5 separate regions of the Homo sapiens genome follow, and regions 1, 3, 4 and 5 are each linked to region 2. Evidence: promoter capture Hi-C in 16 types of primary human blood cells and fetal thymus (Javierre and others, 2016). All regions are on one chromosome and are shown on one strand. Each heading gives the region's core, a stretch centred on a gene start or on the middle of the fragment in contact. The rest is flanking DNA. Distances are from core to core; before and after follow the strand shown.

Region 1 (2,700 bases), core at 57-2,556, 2.3 Mb before region 2:
GACACGTGGGGCAAGGGAGCGTGAGGCTTAGGAGCAATTAGAGGGAGACAAAAAGGTTCTGCTATCCACCAAACCTTCTTCGGTCTGGGCCCTCCCTTAGCAACCCTGGGGCTTTATACTCCCTCTCCACCAATCCCTGATGACCCCGGTGGTGCCTCACAATGGACAATGCCAAGTAGCGCCCGCATCATTCCAATGACCCCTCCCCCATCTCAGTCTCCCACACTCCTCGCAAGGACAGGTCCTCTCTGGAACCTTCACAAACCTGATTTCTGGTCCTCCCCAACCAGCTCCCTGTCCCTGCTTCTGGGCTCTCCTTCCTTCCTGAGCTCCCAGGGTTCCTCAAGGTCACTTTTGGCGACAAAACATAAAAAACAAATGATGGCAGGATGGCAGGAAGAACTTCATACCCAAGCAGAGTGCCAGGTTTTACAGCCTCCGCTCAGCCATTCATATCCTAAGCAACAAAACATCAGCAGGATGCGGAAGGTCCCGATAGTAAACCATCTCCATCACATCCATGTAGCCATCCGTCCATCAACCTGTATCTCAGGAACAAATGTAGATACATTCATTTTAAGCATGCATGGTACATTTACAAAAATTAACCTGACTTATTTTGTTCCAGCAAATCTCAATATATTTGAGAGCAATCAAATCACACAGCATGTTTCTGATCATATAACTGTGCTAGAAGTCAATGATTAAAAGCTAATTCAAAATTATTATTTGCTTGGAAATTCAAAGTGCCCTTATAAGACATAAACATAAGAAAGAATCCAAAATGAAACAAGATTGCCTTTCAACTCAATGATGAGATCATAACATGGCAATAAAATGTCTCCCCCTGGCCTGGGAATTCCTCTTTGTGGCACAAGGTTGTGTGATCTCAAATCACCCCTAACCCACCTAGACATTTTAACATCTGAAACCGAGTGATGATGTCCTTATCTATAATCATCTTACTGCCTGTGTGTGTGGACTTTAAATTCTGAACCCAAATGAGGGGGAGAAAACCAAGTTGACCTTCATCATTGACCTCTCAGGGACGTCCAAGGAATCTGTGCATTTCAAGAAACAAAGTTCATCAGCTTCTCTCCTAAGGTATTTGCCCACAATACCCAGAGGGCTTGGCAGCATCATGTGTGATGGGTGGGGAGCTCCAAGCAGGTGGGCAGGACCCAGGGGTCTGGTGACCAGGACAGACCCCCACTGTCCATCACCTTTCCTGGCCCTGTCCTCAGCTGAACTTCCCACAGGCCTTCTGCCCGATCACACAGAGTGTGCCCAAACTCACTCAGGCCTCTGGCAGCTGAAAACCACTGCTTTAAATCCCTTTACCATTTACTATGACATAAGGTTATTGTAAACAGGAAATATTCTATTGATGCTACAAATGGAAAGCCAATGCCTTTACCATAAATAGAAAAACAACCCTAAGAAACAAGCAAAACAAAAACAAAACAGGGGCTGGGTGTGGTGGCTCACGCCTGTAATCCCAGCACTTTGGGAGGCCGAGGTGGGTGGATCACAAGGTCAGGAGTTCCAGACCAGCCTGGCCAATATGGTGAAACCCTGTCTCTAATAAAATACAAAAATTAGCCGGGTGTGGTGGTGGGCGCCTTAGTCCCACCTACTTGGGAGGCTGAGGCAGGAGAATAGTTTGAACCCGGGAGGCAGAGTCTGCAGTGAGCCGAGATTGCACCACTGCACTCCAGCCTAGGCGACAGAGCGAGACTCAGTCTCAAAAACAGCAACAACTACAAACAAACAAAAAACAGGGTTAACAAAACTATGGAATTCAATTCTATTTATATGCTGCAGCCATGTTCCAGCCCTAGATTTGGCTGGGCATGGTGGCTCACGCCTGTAATCCCAGCACTTTGGGAGGCTGAGGCAGGCGGATCACGAGGTTAGGAGTTCGAGATCAGCCTGACCAACATGGTGAAACCCCGTCTCTACTAAAAATACAAAAATTAGCCAGGCACGGTGGCACCCGCCTGTAATCCCAGCTACTCAGGAGGCTGAGGCAGGACAATCCCTTGAACCCAGGAGGTGGAGGTTGCAGTGAGCCGAGATCGTGCCATTGCACTCCAGCCTGGGTGACAGAATGGAATGAGACTCTGTCTCAAAAAAAAAGAAGCCCTCGGATTTCGGTTGTGTTGGTTGTAAAAGGAGAGACCAAGTAAGTGGGGGTTGAAGTCAGATTAGACCAAAAGTGAATGGCAGAGAGTACTATAATGTCCATGAAGGGTTGCTAGAGTCACCGTGATCATAGCCCAAGCAGAGACAGGGAAAGGAAGATGTGAGCAGAGTTTGGGGCCTCAAACATTGGAGGTTACTCGTGCAGCCCAGGAAAGGCTCCCCAAAGCCAGGATCAACCTCCCTTGCAGGCGGTCCCTCATGGAGGCATGGCCAGGCACCTTAGATTTGAGACCAGCTGTGTTGCTGCTGACCAGCTGTGTGACCCTGGGCTGGTTTCCTTGCGTACAATGGGAGTGCCAATGGCTGCATGCATGCAAAGACCATCTGAGGATAGGAGGAAGCAATCTGTTGAGCACCCGTGTACCTGAGTGTCATCACCTCCCAAAGGCATCCTTCGTTCCAGAGCTGGCACCTTGGAAGGCCCTTGGTTACTAAATGCAGTGATGATGGTAACAGCAGTAAATCATCATTTACGGCTGATGACGGAAGGCCAGG
Region 2 (2,700 bases), core at 144-2,643:
AGAGTTACATTTTGAAAATGCCATCAGGCAGAACAGAAAAAAAGAAAGCTGCATATTGGTGACATCTGTGCGCATGTGAGGAAATCCACACAAGAAGGTAAAGATATACAGGCTCTACTCAATAGTTGTCTAAACTAGGAAAGGTACCCTGGACTGCCATTCTACGCAGTTGAGAGAACACTGGATGTGTTGTTGACTGCTGTAGCTCAATGTCTAGCAAAATAAGCGTTTGATAAATTAAAAAATGAATTAATTTAAACTTATTAAAGGAGGACAGGAACCCAAACATTTCTGGAGACAGCAAGGGAAGATTCCAGCAACACAGGACAAGGAGACAGCCAGAGAGAACTTCATTAGCTGCTGAGACGAACAAATAAGGAGCTAAAGAGCAAGATTCTTGAGAAGGATTAATGGCAAAGAAACTACAAGGCGTACGAGAAAGCCAGGGAAGAAAGAACCTGGATTCATTCATTCAACAATTATTCACTGAGGGTGTCCCTGAGCCAATTGCTGTTCTCGGCGATAGCAACAGAGAACAAGACAAAAATCCCCGCCCACCTGGAGCTGACATTCTAGTAGAAGAGATCGCCCACCAGATTGCCTGGTATAAATGACACTGTGAGAGAGCAGAGGAAGACACAAGGAGTCCTACTCGGGCTCGGTGACAGTCTGGGGTGGGTTAAAGCGGAGGCCTGGGAGAGGGACCAAGGCCACTCCAGGCAGCATCCCTGGATCTCAGCGAGGCCGCTCCAGGCAGCAGGATTTGACCAGAGCAAGGAGGAAGGCCAAGGCGGCCAGGACGGATGCAGCATCCCTGAGGTGAGTAAGGCAAGGTGGGTGACAGGGACGACAGAGGAACTCCCCAAACTGGGGCCCGGACCTGAGCAGGGGACCAATATCCGCCGCCTAGAGCCGCCATGATTACAGAAGGGCAGGCCAGGAAGGAAGAAGGGACTCTCACCTCACCAAGCGCGACTCTTGGGACCCTTCTGTCCCGGATTCTGGGGCGCCGGCGCTGCCACCCCTCGCTCAGACAGGCTCAAGGAGCCAAAATCCACACCTTGAAAGCGGCCATTATTGTCCCTTAATACTTTGCGCGCCCCCTCTATCCGCCCAAAGCTACCATAGAGAGCAGCCTGGAACACGCCCGATTCCTGGATCCAAGTGTGGAACGGTACGCCAACAGGCTCTCAAGGCCTCCTCTGGGGCTCTGATCAGACACTTCCGAGTCTCCTTGTGACCAATCACTCTTAGCCTAAGAGACTACATCCCGCCTCTAGTCTGGGGGCAGGAAAAGGAGGGGAAAAAGGTCGACCATCTTTAATACGGGCGGAGGTGACGCCTAGCTTCCGGTCAGAGCCGAGCAAGGTGGGCGGTGACTAGAAGCTCTTCCGTTTATTGGGCTGTTGAGCGGGGGCCGACCGACGGCCAGGAGTTTCTTTTCTGCGCTTGTGCGTTTTCTGTTCGGTTTCCTTCCCGCTAGCGGGGCCACGAGGGTTGCTAGGCAACAGCCCCTGGGTGACTTGGTCTTAGGGTCCTGTCCGGCTTGGGGCTGATGAAAGGAGCTGTCCGCGCCCGGGCTCTTCCGAGAAGTGGTTGCTGACAGCCACAAAGTGAAAGGGAGTGAGGCGGCGTGGACGAGTAAGGTAAGTGCTGGGGTCCCTTAGCGCTTGTGGGCCAGGAGCAGCGCAACACAGGTGACTTTAAATATGTATATCGGATATTTTGGAAAATGGAGATGCGCGCCCGGCTGTAAATAAAAATCACCCATGCGTTCACACGCAGAGATGACCACTGATTTCCAGTTGTTTTTCTGGAATACATTGTAGTAAGATTCTGTACAAAAGTGAGTTCAAGCTTTTTTTCTTTTTTTGGTGTTTCTGCAGTTGTGGCGCGCGCCTGAGGTTCCAGCTACTCGGGAGGCTGAGGCGGGAGGATTGCTTGAGCCTGGGGAGTTGAGACCAGCCTGGGCAACATAGCGAAACCCCGCCTCAGAAAAAGAGAGGGAGAGAGGAAAGCAGTGGAGTTATTGGTCAAAGAGTATGTCAGTTTTCTTTCCAGAAAGGTTTTGTGTCTGCATTCCAGCAGGAACTCCCTGTGCCTGCCCCTACCACTATCTTGTTTAATTTTTGCCAATTCAGTGACTTTGTAAACATATGTTTTAATTTGCTTTTCTTTGCTTACTGGTAAAGCTTAACTTTTTAGTTTATTTACTGTCCATTTGTACGTCTTCTTTTGGGAATTCTCTGTGGGTATCATTTACTATGGACATTTTCTTAGATGTGGTCTCAGTTTTCCTCTCCTGCTTCCAACGTTTGTCCAGTTGCACCCCTAGCCTCACCACTAACAACTTTGTTCTCCCCTTACTTTCTCCTTTCGATCAGTAACACGGAGGAACTGCTGTTTGTTTGAATTCTAGTGGGACAGATCCGTCTTCTCTTTGACCTTCCCTTTCATTGGTAATTTGTTCTGCTGCTCACATCTGATGACGTCCCTTTGGGCCATCAATGTCCCTGTTTAAAGTATGACCTATAGCTGGAACAATCTTATTTCCTATGTGAATTTTAGTTAAATAATTCCTTTTTTTTTTTTTGGAGACGGAGCTTCGCTCTTGTTGCCTTGCCCAGGCTGGAGTGCAGTGGAGCGATCCTAGCTCACTGCAACCTCCGCCTCCAGGGTTCAAGCAATTCTCCTGCCTCA
Region 3 (2,700 bases), core at 135-2,634, 2.6 Mb before region 2:
TCCCAGCACTTTGGGAGGCCGAGGCAGTCGGATCACCTGAGGCCAGGAGTTCGAGACCAGCCTGACCAACATGGAGAAACCCCATTTCCCAGCTACTCGGGAGGCTGAGGCAGGAGAATCGCTTGAACCCGGGAGGCCGAGGTTGCAGTGAGCTGAGATCACGCCATTGCACTCCAGCCTGGGCAACAAGAGTGAAACTCCATCTCAAAAAAAGAAAGAAAGAAAGAAAGAAAAGTCTCCCTGTTGCACCCAGGCTGGAAGAGCTCACTGCAGTCTCGAACTCCCGGGCCCCAGGGATCCTCCCACCTCGGCTTCCCGCAATAGCTGGGACCACAGGTGCGCGCCACCACGCCCGGCTCATTGTTTTATTTTTCTTTTTTCTTTCTTTTTTTGAGATAGAGTCTCGCTTTGTTGCCCCTGCTGGAGTGCAGTGGTGCGATCTCGGCTCACTGCAACCTCTGCCTCCCGGGTTCAAGCGATTCTCCTGCCTCAGCCTCCCAAGTAGCTGGGATTACAGGCATGCGCCACCACACCCGGGTAGTTTTTGTATTTTTAGTGGAGACGGGGTTTCACCATATTGGCCATTCTGGGACTCCGACCTCAAGTGGTCTGCCCTCGGCTTCCCAAAGTGCTGGGATTACAGGTGTGAGCCACCGCGCCTGACCTGTTCTATTTTTCTTTTTTGGTAGAGATGGGAATTTCACTGTGTTGCCCAAGCTGGTCTGGAACACCAGAGCGTAAGTGATCCATCCGCCTGGGCATTTCAGTGTCCAGGGATCACAGGCGTGACCCTCTGCACCGGCCAGAGCAAAGATTTGAACACTTCCCCCGCCCACCTCTTCTCAACCTTTAATTGAGGGGCTTTCGTCCTGCCTGTTGTGGCCATTGATTGAAACCTGAGTAACAAAGATGACAAGTCTGAGGTTGACATTTTAAGCACCGCTCACAGCACACATAAAAAACAGCGTTTGTGTGACATCCTCAAGGTTTGGGGTGCCCAGCCCATGGTCTCTCGTTCTAGGCACCTCCGACTGGCCTACAGTGGTTAGGAAGCTTCAGCTCCAGAACTGCACCGTTCCATAGAACTTTGTGCGACGAGAAAAGTGTTCTGTATTTCTGCTGTCCAGTATGGGAGTCACCCGCCCTATGTGTGTTTCTAGCAGTTGAAATGTGACCTGCACGACAAAGGAACTTATTTTATTTCTTTCTTTTTTCTTTTTTTAGACGGAGTCTTACTCTCTCTCCCGGTCTGGAGTGCAGTGGCGTGATCTCGGCTCAATGTAACCTCCACTCTCCGGGTTCAAGGGGTTCTCCTGCCTCAGCCTCCCAAGTAGCTAGGACCACAGGTGCACACCATCACGGCTGGCTAATTTTTTTGTATTTTTTGTAGAGACGGGGTTTTGCCGTGTTGCCCAGGCTGGTCTCCAACTCCTGGTCTCCAGCTACCTGCCTCAGTCTCCCAAAGTGCTGGGATTATAGGCGTGGGCCACAGCTCCTGGCCGAATTTGATTTTTATTTAATTTAAATAACCATATGGGAGTAGACAGTGCGGCCCCCTAGATTCTGCTCTTTTTAGTCCATTTCTCCCCTTTGTCTTCCTGAAGGCTGAGTTGCTTAATGTCTCTTGAGTACATCTAGAAGTAGCTTGGGCCTTATGTTCTGACACACAATTCTTGGGAGACTGTCGTTGTACCCTAGAAACATTAAAAGCTTTTAGTTAGGCAGCTGCAGTAGCTCACTCCTGTAATCCCAGCACTTTGGGAGGCTGAGGCAGAAGGGTTGCTTGAGCCGAGGAGTTGAAGACCAGCCTAGGCAACGTGGGAAACCCCATCTATACAAAAAATGTTTAAAACTTGAAGTATCTCACATTGTTCAGTTTGCAGACTTTCTTTCCCACTTATTTTCAGTACTGTGCCACTCTCCATCCTGAGTGTAAGCCTGTGTGGTTCAAACCTCCAGTTTTCTCGTGCATAGGGGGAGAAGGGCTTTGTTCTGTGTTTTGTTTTAGCTGGCTGGTGTTTGAGTAGGAGTCAAGCTAACTGCTTTACTGGCTTTTAACCAGCCCTTCTCTTTTAGCGCCATCTTTCAATATTGCCTTTTGTGGTACCTGGTTTTTACAGTCCCTTTAGTGGGAATCAGCTTGCTTCTCAATAACACACCTCACCCCAACCACTGTGCCCTTTGCAGGCTTTGAGTTTTATCTTTTGGCTCTGCTAAGCAGTCATCAATCATCAGTTTCTCCTTTATGGCCTTAAAAAACTGGTTTGCATATCATACCCTGTTTGCATTTGTGTCGTCCTGGTTAATTTATCCTTTCTTAAAAAAATGTCTCAGGTTGTGGGGGTCATGTTCGTGGGTTTTAGGAATGACTGGAGTGGAGAGAGAAAGATACATATATGTACTTCGTCCACTATGTTTATTAGAATTCCTTCCATTTATTCAGCCTGCACCAGTCTGGCCTCTGACCCCACCACTTCAGGGAAACTGCTTTTTTAGGTCACCTGTCATCCTCATGTTGCCAAATCTAGCGGCCGTTCTTCCCCCCAGTAGCACTTGACACTCAATTGTTCCTTCCTTGAAACATTGTTTTTCCAAGACACCACATTCCCATGTTTCCTCCTACTTTATAATCTTCCTTAACTGGCTTCTTTTACTCTGTTGTACTTTTAACAGTAGTGTCTCTGACTTTAGTCTTCAGCC
Region 4 (2,700 bases), core at 12-2,511, 2.5 Mb before region 2:
TTTCATCAAACTAGGATCCTAATACTGGTGACCAAACAATTAGTAGTAGTTTGTGGTAGAAACAGCACATTATTAGGGAAAGTGGCAAAAAGTGGCCTATTCAAGGAGTGTATATATCCTTCATGTGTATTCCGGACATTTGGAAACCTCCACTTAAAGGAGGCAGTTTTATGCTCCAGAGGAGGAAAGGCGTCATATAAATTGGAAATGGGGGTTTTGGGGGGTTGGGGGGAGGTGGAGGGACCAAATTTCCAATTTAATGTTTTTTCCTCCAGTTTTTACATACAGAAATAATGAAGGAAGAGTACTGTGAACACCTATGTGTATTCTTCAGGAGGTGGAGTTATTTTTAAACTTCTTTTCTTTTTTTTGAGATGGAGTCTCACTCTGTCGCCAGGCTGGAGTGCAGTGGCTTGAACTTGGCTCACTGCAACCTCCACCTCCCGGCTTTAAGCAATTCTGCCTCAGCCACCTGAGTACCTGGGACTACAGGCGAGCGCCACCACGCCCAGCTAATTTTTGTATTTTTAGTAGAGACAGGGTTTCACCATGTTGGCCAGGATGGTCTCGATCTCCTGACCTTGTGATCTGCCAGCCTCGGGCTCCCAAAGTGCTGAGATTAGTGGTGTGAGCCACCACCCCCACCCTATTTTCTTTTTCTTTAAAGACAGCGAAAGGAAATTTCATTCTGCTTAGTCTGGGAGTTAATTAAATCTGATCTATGTGTTTGAAAGAGCATAACTTAAAGAAGTAAACTAGTTAGGCACATTTGAAGAAACATGTATAGAATATGTTTTGTATTTGCTGTTCAGTAAGTAGAACTATTTGATAGTGAAATAGATATATGTACTTTTCTGTCCCTTTGCATGCAAATGCAGGGAACATTTTCCTATCCGTACCCATTATTGGAATTATGAAAAGGCAGAGCATATGAGTACAGTTGTTCCTTGGTATCACTGGAGGATGGTTCCAGGCCTCCTGCAGATATTGAAATCCAAGGACGCTCAAGTACCTTATACCGTATAAAATGGTGTCGTATTTCCATATCATCTGTGCACACCCTTCCGAATTCTTGTCTTCTCTAAAATACTTGTGATACCTAGTACAGTGCCTACATATCAGTTCATTCATGTGGATTCACTGTAGTACTTGGCATATGTCAAACTTAACTTTTGCTTTTTGGAACCTTATGGAACTTTTCTTTCTGAAAAAAAATTTTTTATTATGGAGACAGGGTCTCGCTCTGTCATCCAGGCTGGAGTGCAGTGGTGCAGTCATAGCTCACTGCAGCCTCAGTCTTCTGGGTTTGAGAGTTCACTGAAGCCTCCACATTCCGGGTTCAAGTGATCTTCCCAGCTGGGCTTTCCAAAGTGCTGGGATTAGAGTTGTGAGCCACTGTGCCTGGCCTTGGGATTCTTTTTTTTTTTTTTTAACGCTCTCGGATGAGTCATGCTTTTAAAAAGGCCAAGTATATCATGGGTCCACTATGAAATAATAGATGTAATAGCCAGTAATGGTGTGTTAGTAGTCCTAGTTGTGTGTGTATAATTATTAGTAGTTCAAGTTATTTAAATAAAAACAAAAAATTAGAAAGTGTAAGGCAGAAAAGAAAAAATATTCCCTGGGCTGTTCTAGTAGGTGGAGTAATAATACCAAAGAAAGAGAAGATACTGTTGCTTAGTATGTGATAAGGAAGGCATGCTTGATGTTGTCAGTCATTTTAAAATACTTTACTTATTCTTGGTTGAAATGGCCAGTAGCACTTTTTTTTTTTCCACTAGTGTCTTGTATTTCGAAGTTTCAGATGGAGACCTTGGTTCCTTAGAAGTTTGTGGTGTTCAGCCGGGCGCAGTGGCTCACACTTGAAATCCTAGCCCTTTGGGAGGCTGAGGCAGGAGGATTGCTTGAGCTAGGAGTTCAGTACCAGCCTGGCAACATAGTGAGACACCGTCTCTAATAAAAAGTTTGTGATGTTCATAGATTAGATTTTCTTTTTTTTTTTTTTTTGAGACGGAGTCTTATTCTGTTGCCAGGCTGGAGTGCAGTGGTGTGATCTCGGCTCACTGCAACCTCTGACTCCCTGGTTCAAGCAGTTCTTCTGCCTCAGCGTCCCAAGTAGCTGGGATTACAGGCACGCACCACCTCGCCCAGCTAATTTTTGTATTTTTAGTAGAGACAGAGTTTCACCATGTTGGCCAGGATAGTCTTGATCTCCTGACCTCATGATCTGCCCACCTTGGTCTCCCAAAGTGCTGGGATTACAGTCATGAGCTATTGCGCCTGGCTGCTGCTGCTGCTGCTGCTGTTGTTGTTGTTGTTGTTGTTTGAGACGAAGTCTTGCCCTGTTGCTCAGGCTGGAGTGCAGTGGCACAATCTTGGCTCACTGCAACCTCTGCCTTCTGGGTTCAAGTGATTCTCCTGTCTCAGCCTCTTCATCACCTTGGCCAGGCTGGTCTTGAACTCCTCACCTTAGGTGATCTGCCTGCGTCGGCCTCCCAAACTGCTGGATTACAGGCATGAGCCATTGTGCGTGCCCCATAGATTTTCTTACACAGAAGTAGAGAGAATAGGGTAATGAGTCCCTGGGTATACATCACCCAGCTTCAACTGTTCCCACCCTTTTTTTTTTTTGAGAGACAGAGTCTCACTCTGTCACCCAGGCTGGAGTGCAGGGGCACGATCTTGGCTCACTGCAACCTC
Region 5 (2,700 bases), core at 55-2,554, 2.6 Mb before region 2:
AATTGCTTGAACCTGGGAGGCGGAGTTTGCAGTGAGCCGAGATCATGCCACTGCACTCCAGCCTGGGTGACAGAGTGAGACTCTGTCTCAAACAAACAAAAAAAAAAACCATTACTTTACCCCTCTACCAAGAGCCTTATGTGACAGGCTCTTTTTTTTTTTTTTTTTTTCTTTTTTTCCCAATGTGACTGCATTTTCTCTCATGGAATGACCCCTCCTGCTGGTCATGTTTTGCTGCCGTCTTGCCTAGAGATTGGACAGAGCAACTCCTGTCTTATCCCCTTTGGAAGTTGCTCCACAGCCTCAGGCCAACTTGATTTCAGAGTGTGGAATCCCAATCTAAAGGGAAACGTAGGCCAGGCACGGTGGCTCACATCTGTAATCCCAGCACTTTGGGAGGCCAAGGTAGGTGGATCACCTGAGGTCAGGAGTTTGAGACCAGCCTGGCCAACATGATAAAACCCTGTCTCTACTAAAAATATAAAAATTAACTGGGCGTGGTGGTGGGTGCCTGTAGTCCCAGCTACTCGGGAGGCTGAGGCAGGAGAATTGCGTGAACCTGGGAGGCGGAGGTTGCAGTGAGCCAATATCATGCCACTGCACTCCAGCCTGGGTGACAGAGCTAGACTCTGTCTCAAAAAAATTAAAAAATAAAAAATAAAGACAAATGTTCAGCAACGTTTGTTCTCCTTGGGGACCGCTGAGGTGCCTGGCTCAGTCACATGTCAGTTTTGCAGCTCAGGCCCATGAATGGGGAAGTCGACTTCTTGTCTGAGTCCTCACCCGCCCCTGCCATGTGTGCCCTACTCATTCCTCCCACACAGATGTACGAAGCTTCTTGTGAGCACCCATGTGAACAAGACAGACACATTTCCTGCCTTCTTGGGAATCCAGTTGAGTGAGGAAGACATTCGCCAAATAACTGCTCAAGAAAATTTTGAATTATACCAAGAAAGGGAGATAGAAGTTAAAAAAGAAAAAGAAAAAGAATTTTTTTTTTTTTTTTTTGAGACAGAGTCTCATTCTGTCACTCAGGCTGGAGTGCGGTGGTACAATATGCTTACTGCAGCTTCCACCTCCGAGGTTCAAGCAATTCTCCTGCCTCAGCCTCCCTAATAGCTGGGACTACAGGCATGTCCCACCACACCTGGCTAATTTTTGCATTTTTCATAGAGACGAGGTTTCATCATGTTGGCCAGGCTGGTCTCGAACTCCTGGCCTCAAGTGATCCACCAGCCTCAGCCTCCCAAAGAGCCAGGATTACAGGCGTGAGTCACCACACCTGGCAGAACATTTTTTTTTTTTTTTTGAGATGTAGTGTCACTCTGTTGCCCAGGCTGGAGTGCAGTGGTGCAATCTCTGCCACGCAGCTTCAAGTGATTCTCCTGCCTCAGCCTCCCAAGTAGATGGGATTACACGCACCTGCCACCACACCCAGCTAATTTTTGTATTTTTAGTAGAGACATGGTTTCACCACGTAGGCCAGGCTGATCTCAAACTCCTGACCTTGTGTTCCACCCACATTGGTCTCCCAAAGTGCTGGGATTACAGGCATGAGCCAACGCACCCAGCCAATTTTTTTTTTAAGGTAGAATTACGACAAGCCAAGTATTATGGAGAAGAGGATGGGAATTCTGGGCATATTTGGTCCATTCAAGGAGGCCGGGGACCAAAACTGTGGGCTGAGGATTGGGGGAGAAATGGGACTCAGCAGAGCCAAGTCTGTATCTGTACCGAGGCTGGGAGAGGTGGGCTGCAGACATGGGAAGCTTCAAGTAGGGCGGGTCCTCATAGTGTCTGGCTCCTTTCCACCAGTGACTCCGCCTCAATTCTCCATTGTCATGGAGTACTGTGAACTCGGGACCCTGAGGGAGCTGTTGGATAGGGAAAAAGACCTCACACTTGGCAAGCGCATGGTCCTAGTCCTGGGGGCAGCCCGAGGCCTATACCGGTAAGACGGGGTGAAAAGGCGCCACTAAGGGTTGGATGGGTCTGTCCACACTCCTGATACTCCCAGAGATGGTGAGAGAACAGGCCAGACGCCCCAGACAGTCTCCCTCCCATACACTGTTTTACTATTTACTCTGATTACAGATAGGAGGGAGGAAAGAGGCTTAACCCAGGGAACACCAGCTCCCAGAACTGACGGTTGAAATTGATGTCCACACTGCACTTATAGAGTTGGATGAGCCCTAATTTTGGAGTGGACAGATTTAGCATAAAAATGAACATATCCAGTTAAATTTGAACGTTAGGAAAGTAATGAATCATTTTTTAGTATAAGTGCATCCTAAACATTGCATGGTATATACTTATACTAAATATCAAAAATATCAAATTTTATTTTATGTTTTGAGACAGAGTCTCACTCTCTTGCCCAGACTGGAGTGCACTGATATGATCACAGATCACTTAACCTCCCGAGCTGAAGGGATTCTCCTACCTTAGCCTCCTGAGAAGCTGGGACTACAGGCGCACACCACTACACTCAGCCAGTTTTTTTTTTATATATATTTTTTGTAGAGATAAGGTTTTGCCATGCTGCCTAGGCTGGTCTCGAACTACTGGGCTCAAGCAATCCTCCTGCCTCAGCTTTCCAAAGTGCTGGGATTACAGGCATGAGTCACTGCACCCAGTCTCAAATTTTGGATAAACATTTATTTTTAGTACAACTATGTCCTATACAATTTGTGGGCATGC

Evidence for each region. The method cuts DNA at HindIII sites, captures the fragments that hold promoters and counts their contacts. A CHiCAGO score of 5 or more calls a contact.
Region 1: the fragment with the promoter of NPIPB15 here is called in contact with the fragment with the promoter of TXNL4B in region 2 in 6 of 17 cell types (naive CD8 T cells, activated CD4 T cells, total CD8 T cells and 3 more); the score reaches 13.0 in naive CD8 T cells.
Region 3: a contact is called between a fragment that was not itself captured here and the fragment with the promoter of TXNL4B in region 2, in 1 of 17 cell types (total B cells). The highest score is 5.5, in total B cells.
Region 4: a contact is called between a fragment that was not itself captured here and the fragment with the promoter of TXNL4B in region 2, in 1 of 17 cell types (fetal thymus). The highest score is 6.8, in fetal thymus.
Region 5: a contact is called between a fragment that was not itself captured here and the fragment with the promoter of TXNL4B in region 2, in 1 of 17 cell types (naive CD8 T cells). The highest score is 5.6, in naive CD8 T cells.

Annotation. Positions count from the first base shown.
Region 1 is chr16:74,374,912-74,377,611 of GRCh38, reverse strand. It overlaps NPIPB15 (nuclear pore complex interacting protein family member B15), which reads right to left and starts at 1,306. Exons shown (of 8, transcript NM_001306094.2): 1 at 266-1,306. The HindIII fragment of the contact is 9,807 bases long and covers 1-2,700 here.
Region 2 is chr16:72,092,313-72,095,012 of GRCh38, reverse strand. TXNL4B (thioredoxin like 4B) reads left to right here and starts at 1,393. Exons shown (of 4, transcript NM_017853.3): 1 at 1,393-1,646. It overlaps DHX38 (DEAH-box helicase 38), which reads right to left and starts at 1,166. Exons shown (of 27, transcript NM_014003.4): 1 at 962-1,166. RefSeq lists enhancers at 871-1,170, 1,231-1,280, 1,291-1,620. The HindIII fragment of the contact is 4,501 bases long and covers 1-1,859 here.
Region 3 is chr16:74,663,270-74,665,969 of GRCh38, reverse strand. All of the region lies in intron 1 of RFWD3 (ring finger and WD repeat domain 3), which reads left to right. Among named protein-coding and RNA genes, the nearest start is that of RFWD3, 2.3 kb to the left of the region's middle. The HindIII fragment of the contact is 657 bases long and covers 1,056-1,712 here.
Region 4 is chr16:74,602,716-74,605,415 of GRCh38, reverse strand. The region is part of intron 1 of GLG1 (golgi glycoprotein 1); the gene reads left to right. Among named protein-coding and RNA genes, the nearest start is that of GLG1, 3.0 kb to the left of the region's middle. The HindIII fragment of the contact is 3,850 bases long and covers 1-2,700 here.
Region 5 is chr16:74,681,902-74,684,601 of GRCh38, reverse strand. MLKL (mixed lineage kinase domain like pseudokinase) reads left to right here. Exons shown (of 11, transcript NM_152649.4): 6 at 1,816-1,951. Among named protein-coding and RNA genes, the nearest start is that of RFWD3, 16 kb to the right of the region's middle. RefSeq lists a silencer at 2,337-2,535. The HindIII fragment of the contact is 935 bases long and covers 837-1,771 here.